Regions from separate parts of the Homo sapiens genome. Here all the other regions are linked to region 1. Evidence: promoter capture Hi-C in human tissues and cell types (Jung and others, 2019). All regions are on one chromosome and are shown on one strand. The core of a region is centred on a gene start or on the middle of the fragment in contact, and the rest is flanking DNA. Distances in the headings are between cores, read along the strand shown.

Region 1 (3,324 bases), core at 505-3,004:
TATGCCTGTAGTCCCAGCTACTCCGGAGGCTGAGACAGGAGAATAGCTTGAACCCAGGAGACGGAGGTTGCAGTGAGCCAAGATCACACCCCTGCACTCCAGTCTGGGCGACAGAGCAAGATTCCGTCTCAAAAAAAAAAAAGCCTTTCATTTTACAGAGATGCTGTACCTTTGCAAGCCTAAAAGAGTAATCACTATCCGCCTCTTTAGTTGGAAATTTCATGAGGAATGGATCAAACCATCAAAAGCAGTAACTGCAAGCTGGGTGTATCTACTTTTTCTATCTTCAATCCAACATTTAATGGGTGCAAAAAAAAAGAAGCGTAAAGCCTCCCTTTCACGTGTTTAAGGACATCAGCTCTGAGACTAGTACTCAGAGTACCTTCTGTTACTCAGTTTCATCCTCTGCAAAATGGGCATCCTCAAATAATGTCTTACTTAGGATGTCATCAAGATTAAACAATTAAAAAAACATGCAAAACATGTTTATCTGTTTCCTCATTTACTATGTCTCTCCCTCTCCTAACTAAACTCAAAACCCCAGTTCGGTCTATCTTGTTTATTGTATTCCCAGGGCCTGGAATGGTATTTTTAAACTTACTATATGATTTAATAAATATTAAGTGAATAGAATGCAAAATGTCTGGTGCTCAAAAAAATGTTGGCTATTATAATTACAATAATGAAAAACAATTAAAATTTTATTGTTCTTATTCAGAGAAGCCACCCCTCCCCCAAGGATCTCACACATCAAGGAGGAACACTAGATAAATACTGGAATGGCTAAATGGAAGTAAGAATAACAATTAGATCATGGAGCAGGACTAACAGACAACAAAACAAAATCTTAACACGGCTAGAGCCTAATTTCGGACTTTTCCGAGTGCGGTGCACACTGGATCAGATTAATAAAGGACGATTACAATAATGACAGTTTTCACAATTGTGTGTGTGCCACGGTCGGTGTCAAGCGTTTTACTGGCCTCACAAAACCCAAGAACCCTGGGGGAGGGAGGGAACCCGCTCCACATCCCCATTTTGCAGATGGGGGAACTGAGGCACCGGGAGAGCCAAGGTCACTACCTAAATGGGGAAGCCTGGATGTGAACCCAGGTAGCCAACTACTGAGCCTGCGCTCAAACAGGCCCTCCGAGGGGCCATTCTCATCTCCTCCAACCCTCAACATCGGGCGGGTGTAGTATTTCCCCAGGAGCCGGACTTCGTGGCCCCAGCGCTGGGACAACAAAATGATTCTTGCCCGCCGGCAAGTCCCATGGACGCCGGCCCGGCCTAAGTTCCGAGGCCGCGGGCCCCACAATTTCCCTCACACCGTGAGCCCCGAGCTCTTCGGGCGGCGCAGGAAGCGACGGGGTGGCCTCAGGAGCCCGGGAAGGCCCGCCCCGCTGCGTGACCTTGGATCCGCCGCCCCGCTTCGGGCCTCAGTTTCCACTCCCGGCCTCGCGCCCGGGGCACTCGGAATCACCGCGCCTGCGGAGCCGCAGGCCCTCACACGCCCCCCTCGGCCGCCCGCATTCACGCCCCACTTACGCTGGAAGGCGGCCGCTCCAGGGACGCCTACCATCGCCGAGCGCCGCCGCCGCGCGCCGCCCGCCTCTACCCGCGACACGGGTCCCTCGCAGGCGCCGCCCGCCTCGACCCGCGGCCCGGGTCCCTCGCAGGCGTCGCCGCGAGATCTGCAGCCGCCGAGCTAACCAGACACCACCACCGCTGCTGTCGCCGTCGCCGCCGCCGCCGCCGCCGTTAGGCCGCGCCCCGCCCCGCCCCCGGCTGGCCCCGCCCCGCCCGCCGGGCACGCCCCCGCCGCGCGCTCTCGCCGCCAGGCCAACGCACGCGGAAGCCCGGCCCCAAGACCAGCTCCCATTAAGCACCGCCCCCTAACCTGACCCGCCCCTTCCGCGGGAACCGACCGCCGAATCCCGGCGCAGCCTGCTTCTCAGACCTGCCCCCTCGGCGTCACGCGCGCCCGTCACGCGCACGGCCCACTTTCTAGCTCCAGACTTCCCGGTGTAGCCAGGGCAGTGGCCCAGGCTCGGGGGCCGAGTGCTAGGGGGAGGGATTACAACGAGTGGCAACGTCTCACCTGAGTTCTCCAGGTACAGGCCTGATGGCTTTTGCGCATGCCTTTGAGCGAGCCCCCTGGCTCAAAGTGTTTTTGGCCTGAAGTATTCTAAATGCCTAAAATTTCATCATCGTAATTTTAATAACTGTTGGCCGGGCGTGGTGGCCCACGCCTGTAATCCTAGTACTTTGGGAGGCCAAAGGAGAGTCACTTGAGCTCAGGAGTTTGAGACTAGCGTCTCTATTAAAAAAATAAATAAATAAAAATAAAAAATAGACCAGGCACGGTGGCTCAGGCCTATAATCCTAACACTTTGGGAGGCCGAGGAGGGTGGATTACCTGAGGTCAGAACTTCGAGGCTAGTCTGGCCAATGTGGCGAAACGCTGTCTCTACTAAAAATACAAAACTTAGAGCCGGGCGCAGTGGCTCAAGCCTGTAATCCTAGCACTTTGGGAGGCCGAGGCGGGAGGATCACGAGGTCAGGAGTTTGAAGACCAGTCTGGCCTATAAGGTGAAACCCTATCTCTACTAAAAAAATAAATAAATAAAAATACAAAAATTAGCCTGGTGCGGTGGCGCGTGCCTTTAGTCCCAGCTACTCGGGAGGCTGGGGCAGGAGAATCACTTGAATCCGGGAGGGGGAGGTTGCAGTGAGCCGAGATCGGAGCCATTGCACTCCAGCCTGAGCAAAAAGAGCAAAACTCCGTATCAAAAAAACAAAACAAGGCCAGGAGCTGTGGCTCACCCCTGTAATCCCAGCACTTTGGGACGCCGAAGCTGGCAGATCACAGCTCAGGATTTGGAGACCAGCCTGACCAACGTGGTGAAACCCCGTCTGTACTAAAAATACAAAAATTAGCTGGACTTGGTTTCACAAGCCTGTAATCCCAGCTAATCAGGAGGCTGAGACAGGAGAATTGCTTGAACCCCGGAGGCGGAGGTTGCACCGAGCCAAGATCACGACACTGCACTCCCACCTGGGTGACAGAGCGAGACTCCCTCTCAAAAAACAAAACAAAACAAAACAAAAAAATTAGCTGGGCGCGGTGGCGGGTGTCCATAATCCCAGCTACTCGGGAGGCTGAGGCAGGAGAGTCGCTTGAACCTGGGAGGCAGAGGTTGCAGTGAACCGAAATCGCGCCACTACACTCTAGCCTGGGCAACAGAGGGAAGCTCCGTCTGAAAAGAAAAGAAAAGAATAAAGACTCTTGTTTCTCAGTATTATTTCAGATATCTCACACCA
Region 2 (3,324 bases), core at 326-2,825, 87 kb before region 1:
ATTTCTTTACACCAGGTCTTTGTACAATAGCTTATGAAAGGGTCTTTTTAAAGACTGTGTAGAGCCAGTTTATGCCATCCTTCAGATTTCCTGCAGTATTTCATCCTGAAGGCTGAGCTTGATAATCGGACCAGCACTCTTGCATCCTGACTGACCAGCATTCACTTCTAATCAATAACAGATGTGGGAATGGTGCCAGAGTGGGCCTTATGCCAAAGTAACAATTTTTCTCCTATTCAAGAGAAAATACCCTTCTTAAGCTCCCAAGTCATCCAAACAGAGAGAATGACATCTGGAAATACACTGCCATGTCATGTGGTTGGCCCCTTTGGATGATAGCTGTATGCACCACAAGCAGAGGGCTGTTGTGCTAGCCTTGTGGGACACCTCAGAGTATGGCAACTCTACAACCTTATGACAGGGAGAAAGTGCTAAAAGCTCTAAGAGAAAAATAGTAGCAAATGGGTACAAACATAAGTTTACTTAAGAAAATTCCCTTCATTATGGTTCTTTCTACAAATCAATTGAAATCATCTTCTCATTTCCACATTAAACTTTAGGCCCAAATTCTCTATTTGCTCACAGCCTTAACTTCTCAACTCCTTACCATTTTGGGGGGATCTATTTTTAAAAACCAAGGAAACTAATACTCAATGTAAATTAATTCAATCATATATAAATTGCCCTAGAAAAAATTTTAGAGGTGGAAAAATTTTAATTAGGTGTACCAATACTAAAGTAGTCAGCTGTAAAGGAAAAAATAAATATGAATATTAACAATTGATATTTTGATGTTATTTGTGACCAACTGACCACAAAGGAAAGCTGATTTAAAAGCCTTTCTTCAGATGCCCAGGAACACCGTACACACCTTCTCAATCCACACTGATAATGAAGCAAGTTTCATATTTACCCAAGATTTGAGTAGGACAAGACTTTCTTGCTGGGAAGGATAAATACAAGTCAGGAAATAACTATAATAGTAATAGCTACCATTACTCTCCATCTTCATATATTCATTTAGAAATAACAAAATATTTATTACACGCAAAGAATGGTGCTAAAATATTTTCTTATTTAAATGACACTAAGACAGTAGAAGGTACCATCTCCAATACCACTTTATTTAACCAGAAGCTAAGGCTCAGAGAAGTCAAAAATTATGTCCCAAGTCATATGGCTAAGAAATGGCAGCTCTGCTGAGCTCCAGAGACCATACTATAGCAAAATAAATAATGCAAAAAGAATTAATTATTGTAGGACTCAATGAAGTTTGCACATTGTGACCAAGAATTTAATAAAACACATTGATTACAGTTCAGAGAGACTTCACATTCTACTATATAGTTCCTGTCTTTCTTCACAAATATATGAACGTAAATACACAGTCTACAGCTGAAGCACACCCTGGACAAGTTAGAAAATTGAAGCATAGAAGCTGTTATGTAGGAGCCCATTTAAGTCCCCAAATGACAATCAGAGAGGCTTCTGACAAAAAGCCCCACTGTCAAATACATGGGCTTAAGGAGTGGCAATGGGGTGCCTTAAGGAGTAAGAACAAATAAGCCAAGATTTCAAAGATGTTGGCTCCACACCAAGATCACCCTTCTCTTCTTGGTATACCTCCTCAAAATCAACAATCCAGAAAGTTTTTATCCATCAATATTTTTAAAAATCCAGGTATATTAGAAAAATGGATAAATACTTAGTATAGGCACAAGTCTAAAATGATCAACAGCCATCACTGCTTACTGAAATGATTATTTAACAATGACACTCTGAAAGATAACCAGGTACTCTACTGTGTTTTCCAAATAGACTGAAAGATGGAGGCAGAACAAAATCAGCTAGAAAAACAATTTCTTTGGCAAACATTTCAGTGACACAATCAGCACCCTCTCAATTCATCTATTATGGAGTGCTCCATCTTTTTTTGGCATTGAACTAAAATTAGGACAGGGAAGATGGACTAAATATGGCAATAAATAAACAGAGAAAAGTAGCAGCTATAAGATCTCATAGACCACTCCACCCAGTACAGAATAAAACTCCCAGAGATGGAGCACACTTATACACTTGGAACGGTTTAACTCATATTCTTCCAAACTCTGTGATTCTTCACAAGTGTGAGCAGAAATACGGATGTGCTGTAGCAAAAATGTACAGCTGCAGCCTGCAGATGTCGAGCTGTTAGCTCTGTGATCAGCAGCCATGCTGTCTGCCTTGCTGGCGCCCTCCTGGTGGCTGCCTCAGTCAGCACTCTGGGCTGTGCCCAGAAAATTGGGAGAGGTTATTCCTGTTGGGCAGCACCCTTTGCAATCAAGAGATGAAAAAAAGACCTTCTTATCTGGGAAATGAAATGCTGATATGATGGTGATGTCTCAGTTTTCTCCTCTATAAAAATAAAAACACTACCAGCTGGCTTTTATTTCCTATCCCTGAGGGGCTGTTATTTGGATAAAAAGCTTTGAAAATTAAAAGCACCATGCAAATATAAGGCTATAGTATAGTGGAGACTGAATCCAAACAACATAAATGGAAGGTAGATGGGCACTCTGGCAGGGCAAGTATCCATGTCTGCCATCAGAGCAAACTCCTAAGTTCCAGTATCTACTTTTATATTAAGATGAGACCTCTGCTAGATATTAAGGAGGCAGAAAGCCTATAAAACAGGTTGTGCTCTCCACCTGCAATGCCCTGCTTTCCCTGTCTCTGGCACTTTAGAAACTCCTACTTTAAGGTCTAACTCCAAGTCCTCCCTGGTAGACTCAAGTGCACCTTGACAGAAATAAAACCTCCCACATTTGGACTCTTACAGCTTCTTATAAACACCTCTTAGGCCAGGCGCGGTGGCTCACGCCTGTAATCCCAACACTTTGGGAGGCCAAGGTGGGCGGATCACGAGATCAGGAGATCGAGGCCATCCTGGCTAACATGGTGAAACCCCGTCTCTACTAAAAATACATTAAAAAAAAAAAAATTAGCCAGGCGTGGTGGCTGGCGCCTGTAGTCCCAGCTACTCGGGAGGCTGAGGCAGGAGAGTGGTGTGAACCCGGGAGGTGGAGCTTGCAGTGAGCTGAGATCGCGCCACTGCACTCCAGCCTGGGCGACAGACTGAGACTCTGTCTCAAAAAATAAAAATAAAAATAAACACCTCTGTGATGTCATTTGTCATATTGTGCCACAGGTGATTTGTTTCTGTGCCTGTCTGTCTGTGAGTTCCTTGAGCTCTTCACTCTTATAACCATAGTTCCTAGTATAACACCCGATAATTTGGTGAGATTTAGGCTTCTAGCGAAAAAGGAAAAAAAAAACCCTATTAAG
Region 3 (3,324 bases), core at 323-2,822, 89 kb after region 1:
AAAGTGCTGGGATTACAGGCATAAGCCACCGTGCCCGGCTGTTTTTGTTTTTTTCTTTTTCAAGACATGGTCTCATTCTGGTACCCAGGCTGGAGTGCAGTGTTGAGGTCATGGTTCACTGCCGCCTCAACTTCCCTGGCTCAAGCAATCCTCCCTGCCTCAGCCTTCTGAGTAGCTGGGACCACAGGTACCCACCACCATGCCGGGGTAATTTTTGTGTTTTTTGTAGAGATGGGGTTTTATCATGTTGCTCAGGCTAGTCTAGAACTCCTGGGCTCAAGCAATCTGCCCATCTTGGCCTCCCAAAGTGCTGGGATTACAGATGTGAGCCACCACGCCCGGCCTGCCACGGAGAGTTTTCAGGAGAGGGGTGATATAATTTGATTTAATAAAACAAACACAAATTCCCTTAGGCTATGTGTGGGAAACTGTTCTCAGGAGACAAGGTGACCATTAGCAGGCTACTGTGATTGTTTCTGATGAGACAATGGTGGCCTGGGTAGTTGTAGCTACCGAGTAGACAGATTTGACATTTTGGAGTTAGAGTTGACAGGGCTTACTGACAGATAGAATGTGGGGATCCAGGGAGGTGAAGAAAATGACCATTCAGTTCCTCCTAGTGCACCTGGAAGGATGGTTGGGCCATTTACTGAGATGGGCCAGAATGACAGGTACAGGTTTTTGGTGAAGGTGCATGTGTGGAAATGAAGAGTTCTGTATAAGTTAGAGATGGTCATCAGACACTCAAGAAGGGGTGTCAAGTAGGCAGCTGAGCTATGGCTCTGGTACTGCAGGGAGGGTCCAGCTGGAGATGTGAATCAGGAAGTCATTAACCTACAGGGCAGCACCCTCCAATAGAAATAGAGCGTGAACCTCTTAGGTGACTTAAAATTTCCCAGTAAGGACCGGACACGGTGGCTCATGCCTACAATCCCAGCACTTTGGGAGGCCAAGGTGGGAGGATGGCTTGCGCCTAGGTAGGAGTTTGAGACCAGCCTGGGCAACATGGGGAGACCGGTCTCTACAAAAAAATTAAAAAAATTTTAGCTGGGCGTGGTGGCGCCTGCCTGTAGTCCCAGCCACTTGGGAGTGTGAGGTGGGAGGATTGCTTTAGCATGGGAGGCGGAAGCTGCAGTGAGCCATGATCACACCATATTATTTTTCCCCCTGCTAGCCACATTGAAAAAGTAAAAAGAAACAACAGGTGAACTTAATTCAAATATTTCTACCACCATAGCTACAAATAAAAAAAACTAATTCAACAAATGTACTTATTTAATCCAATATATCCCAACAATTATTGCAGCACATAATCAATATAAACATTATATATATGAACTATTTGACACTATTTGACATTTCTTCTTCCACATCCAGTGTATCTGACATTTAGCGCACATTTGATTTGCACTCACCCACTTTGAGGAGCTCAATTGCCGCTTAAGTCCGTGGCTAGTGGCTGCCCTAAAGTTCAGCACCGCCACGGAGCTTTGGGTCCACCCGGACTGTAAAAAGGAAGCACTTCCGTTAGCATGACCCGGCCTGAAGTAGCGGCGGAACGGAAGTCGCTTGTGTATGAACGCAGCGGCGGACCTGTGAGGGGATCCGACTTGCCGGCAGAACTTACGCTGCGGGACCCCGGGCACTGTTGCTGCTGCGGGAGGTGAGCAGCGCGGCCGCCGGGGTGGGCTGCGCACCCGCTTTTGACTGGCGCCTGGGGCAGGAGGGGCCGCGGATCCCGGGAAGCGCACGGTGTTCAAGAGGGAGGATGGCACGGTGGTTATGGCGTGGGGCCTGGCGTCAGGCTGTAGGGGTTCGTACCCTAACCCCGCCGCCTAACCCCGTGTGACCTTGGACAGGTCACCTCCACTTCTTTCAAGGCTTCGCTTCGCCACCCGTGAAGTGGGGTTGACAGTACAGCCTGCCTCACAGGGTTGCTATGAGGGTTATAGGTAATAATTCGCGGAAAATGCTTTGCACCATGCCTAACGCATTGTAACCAGCCAATAAAATGTTTGGGATGTTGTACGCTGTTGTTCCAGCCTCATTGCCGACTGTCAGAATTAATTTCGAGCCTCCAGAGAGGCTTCTACATTGCGTTATGCAAAGCATTTTGCTTGTATTATTGCATTTGATCCTACGGTAGGCTTATGGAGATAGGTGCTATTATCCCCATCTAGAGGCTCCCAGAGTTTAAGACAGGTGCCTAAGGTTTAGCTGGCTTGGCAGCAGTGGGGTCAGATTCTGACTCCAGGGTCCATACTTTTTTTTTCTTGAGACGGGAGTCTTGCTCTGTCGCCCAGGCTGGAGTGCAGTGACGCGATCTCGGCTCACTGTAGCCCCTGCCCCGCGAGTTCCAGCGATTCTCCTGCCTCAGCCTCCTGGGTAGCTAGGATTACAGGCGCATACCACCACACCCGGCTAAGTTTTGTATTTTTAGTGGAGTTCATACTCTTAACCAGGATGCTCTAATACTCTCTGTGAAAGGGGGTGTGGGCTGTAAATGTGCAGTTAGTGAACGCTTACTGTATCTCAAGTTGGGTTTTTAATATCTTATTCTTAATAACACTTATGGGGTGGTAGGTGCTGCTTTTATCCTTATTTTACACATGTGGAATTGGCGGCTCAGAGACAGAAATTTGTCTTGCCAAAGGTCACACAGCAATTATGGAGTAGAAAGGGGCGATTTTAAAGTTCACACTTTAAGGCTGTTCTTCTCTGACTCTTGAAACTGGGTTGGCATTGCTCCTAAGTGCTAGTAGCAGATGTGGCAGGTCATCTCATTGGAAAGGTAATGGGCCACATCTGCTCTTTACACGTGTATAGCAGGGTTCCCCTAACCCTAGGTGGTAGAATGGTACCTGTCTGTGGCCTGTGAGGAACCGGGTTGCACAGCAGGAGGTGAGCAGCAAAGCTGGCATTACTGCCTGAGCTCTGCCTCCCGTCAGATTGGCCACGGAATTAGTTTCTCAGGAACACAAACCCTATTGTGAACTGCGTATATGCAAGGCATCTAGTTTGTGCATTCCATTTCCTTTTTTTTGAGACAAGTTCTCTCTCTCTCTGTTGCCCAGGCTGGAGTGTGGTGGCGCAATCTCAGCTCACTGCAATCTCTGCCTCCCTGGCTCAAGTGATCCTCCTACCTCAGCTTCCCAAGTTGCTGGGATTACAGGCACATACCACAATGGCTGGCTAATTTTTTATTTTTTAATTTGTTGTAGAGACAACAAATAAACATGGTCTTGCCATGTTGCCCAGGCTGGTCTCGAACTCCTGAGCTCAAACAATCCGCCTGCCTCGGCCTCCCAAAGTGCTGGGATTATA

What was found. The method cuts DNA at HindIII sites, captures the fragments that hold promoters and counts their contacts. A contact is called where the count stands out against the background at its distance.
Region 2: a fragment that was not itself captured here is called in contact with the fragment with the promoter of CBFA2T2 in region 1 in 4 of the 25 tissues and cell types used here (aorta, dorsolateral prefrontal cortex, mesenchymal stem cells and 1 more).
Region 3: a contact is called between the fragment with the promoter of CDK5RAP1 here and the fragment with the promoter of CBFA2T2 in region 1, in 3 of the 25 tissues and cell types used here (IMR-90 fibroblasts, aorta and stomach).

What each region holds. Positions count from the first base shown.
Region 1 is chr20:33,488,526-33,491,849 of GRCh38, reverse strand. It overlaps CBFA2T2 (CBFA2/RUNX1 partner transcriptional co-repressor 2), which reads right to left and starts at 1,754. Exons shown (of 11, transcript NM_001032999.3): 1 at 1,549-1,754. The coding sequence starts at 1,582. RefSeq lists silencers at 1,435-1,714, 1,725-1,944 and an enhancer at 2,039-2,587. The HindIII fragment of the contact is 17,917 bases long and covers 1-3,324 here.
Region 2 is chr20:33,575,601-33,578,924 of GRCh38, reverse strand. The region is part of intron 1 of CBFA2T2 (CBFA2/RUNX1 partner transcriptional co-repressor 2); the gene reads right to left. Among named protein-coding and RNA genes, the nearest start is that of C20orf144, 85 kb to the left of the region's middle. The HindIII fragment of the contact is 7,720 bases long and covers 1-3,324 here.
Region 3 is chr20:33,399,767-33,403,090 of GRCh38, reverse strand. CDK5RAP1 (CDK5RAP1 mitochondrial tRNA methylthiotransferase) reads left to right here and starts at 1,572. Exons shown (of 14, transcript NM_016408.4): 1 at 1,572-1,663. It overlaps LOC124904889 (a long non-coding RNA gene), which reads right to left and starts at 1,509. Exons shown (of 2, transcript XR_007067567.1): 1 at 1,416-1,509. RefSeq lists enhancers at 1,432-1,631, 1,772-1,861. The HindIII fragment of the contact is 17,720 bases long and covers 1-3,324 here.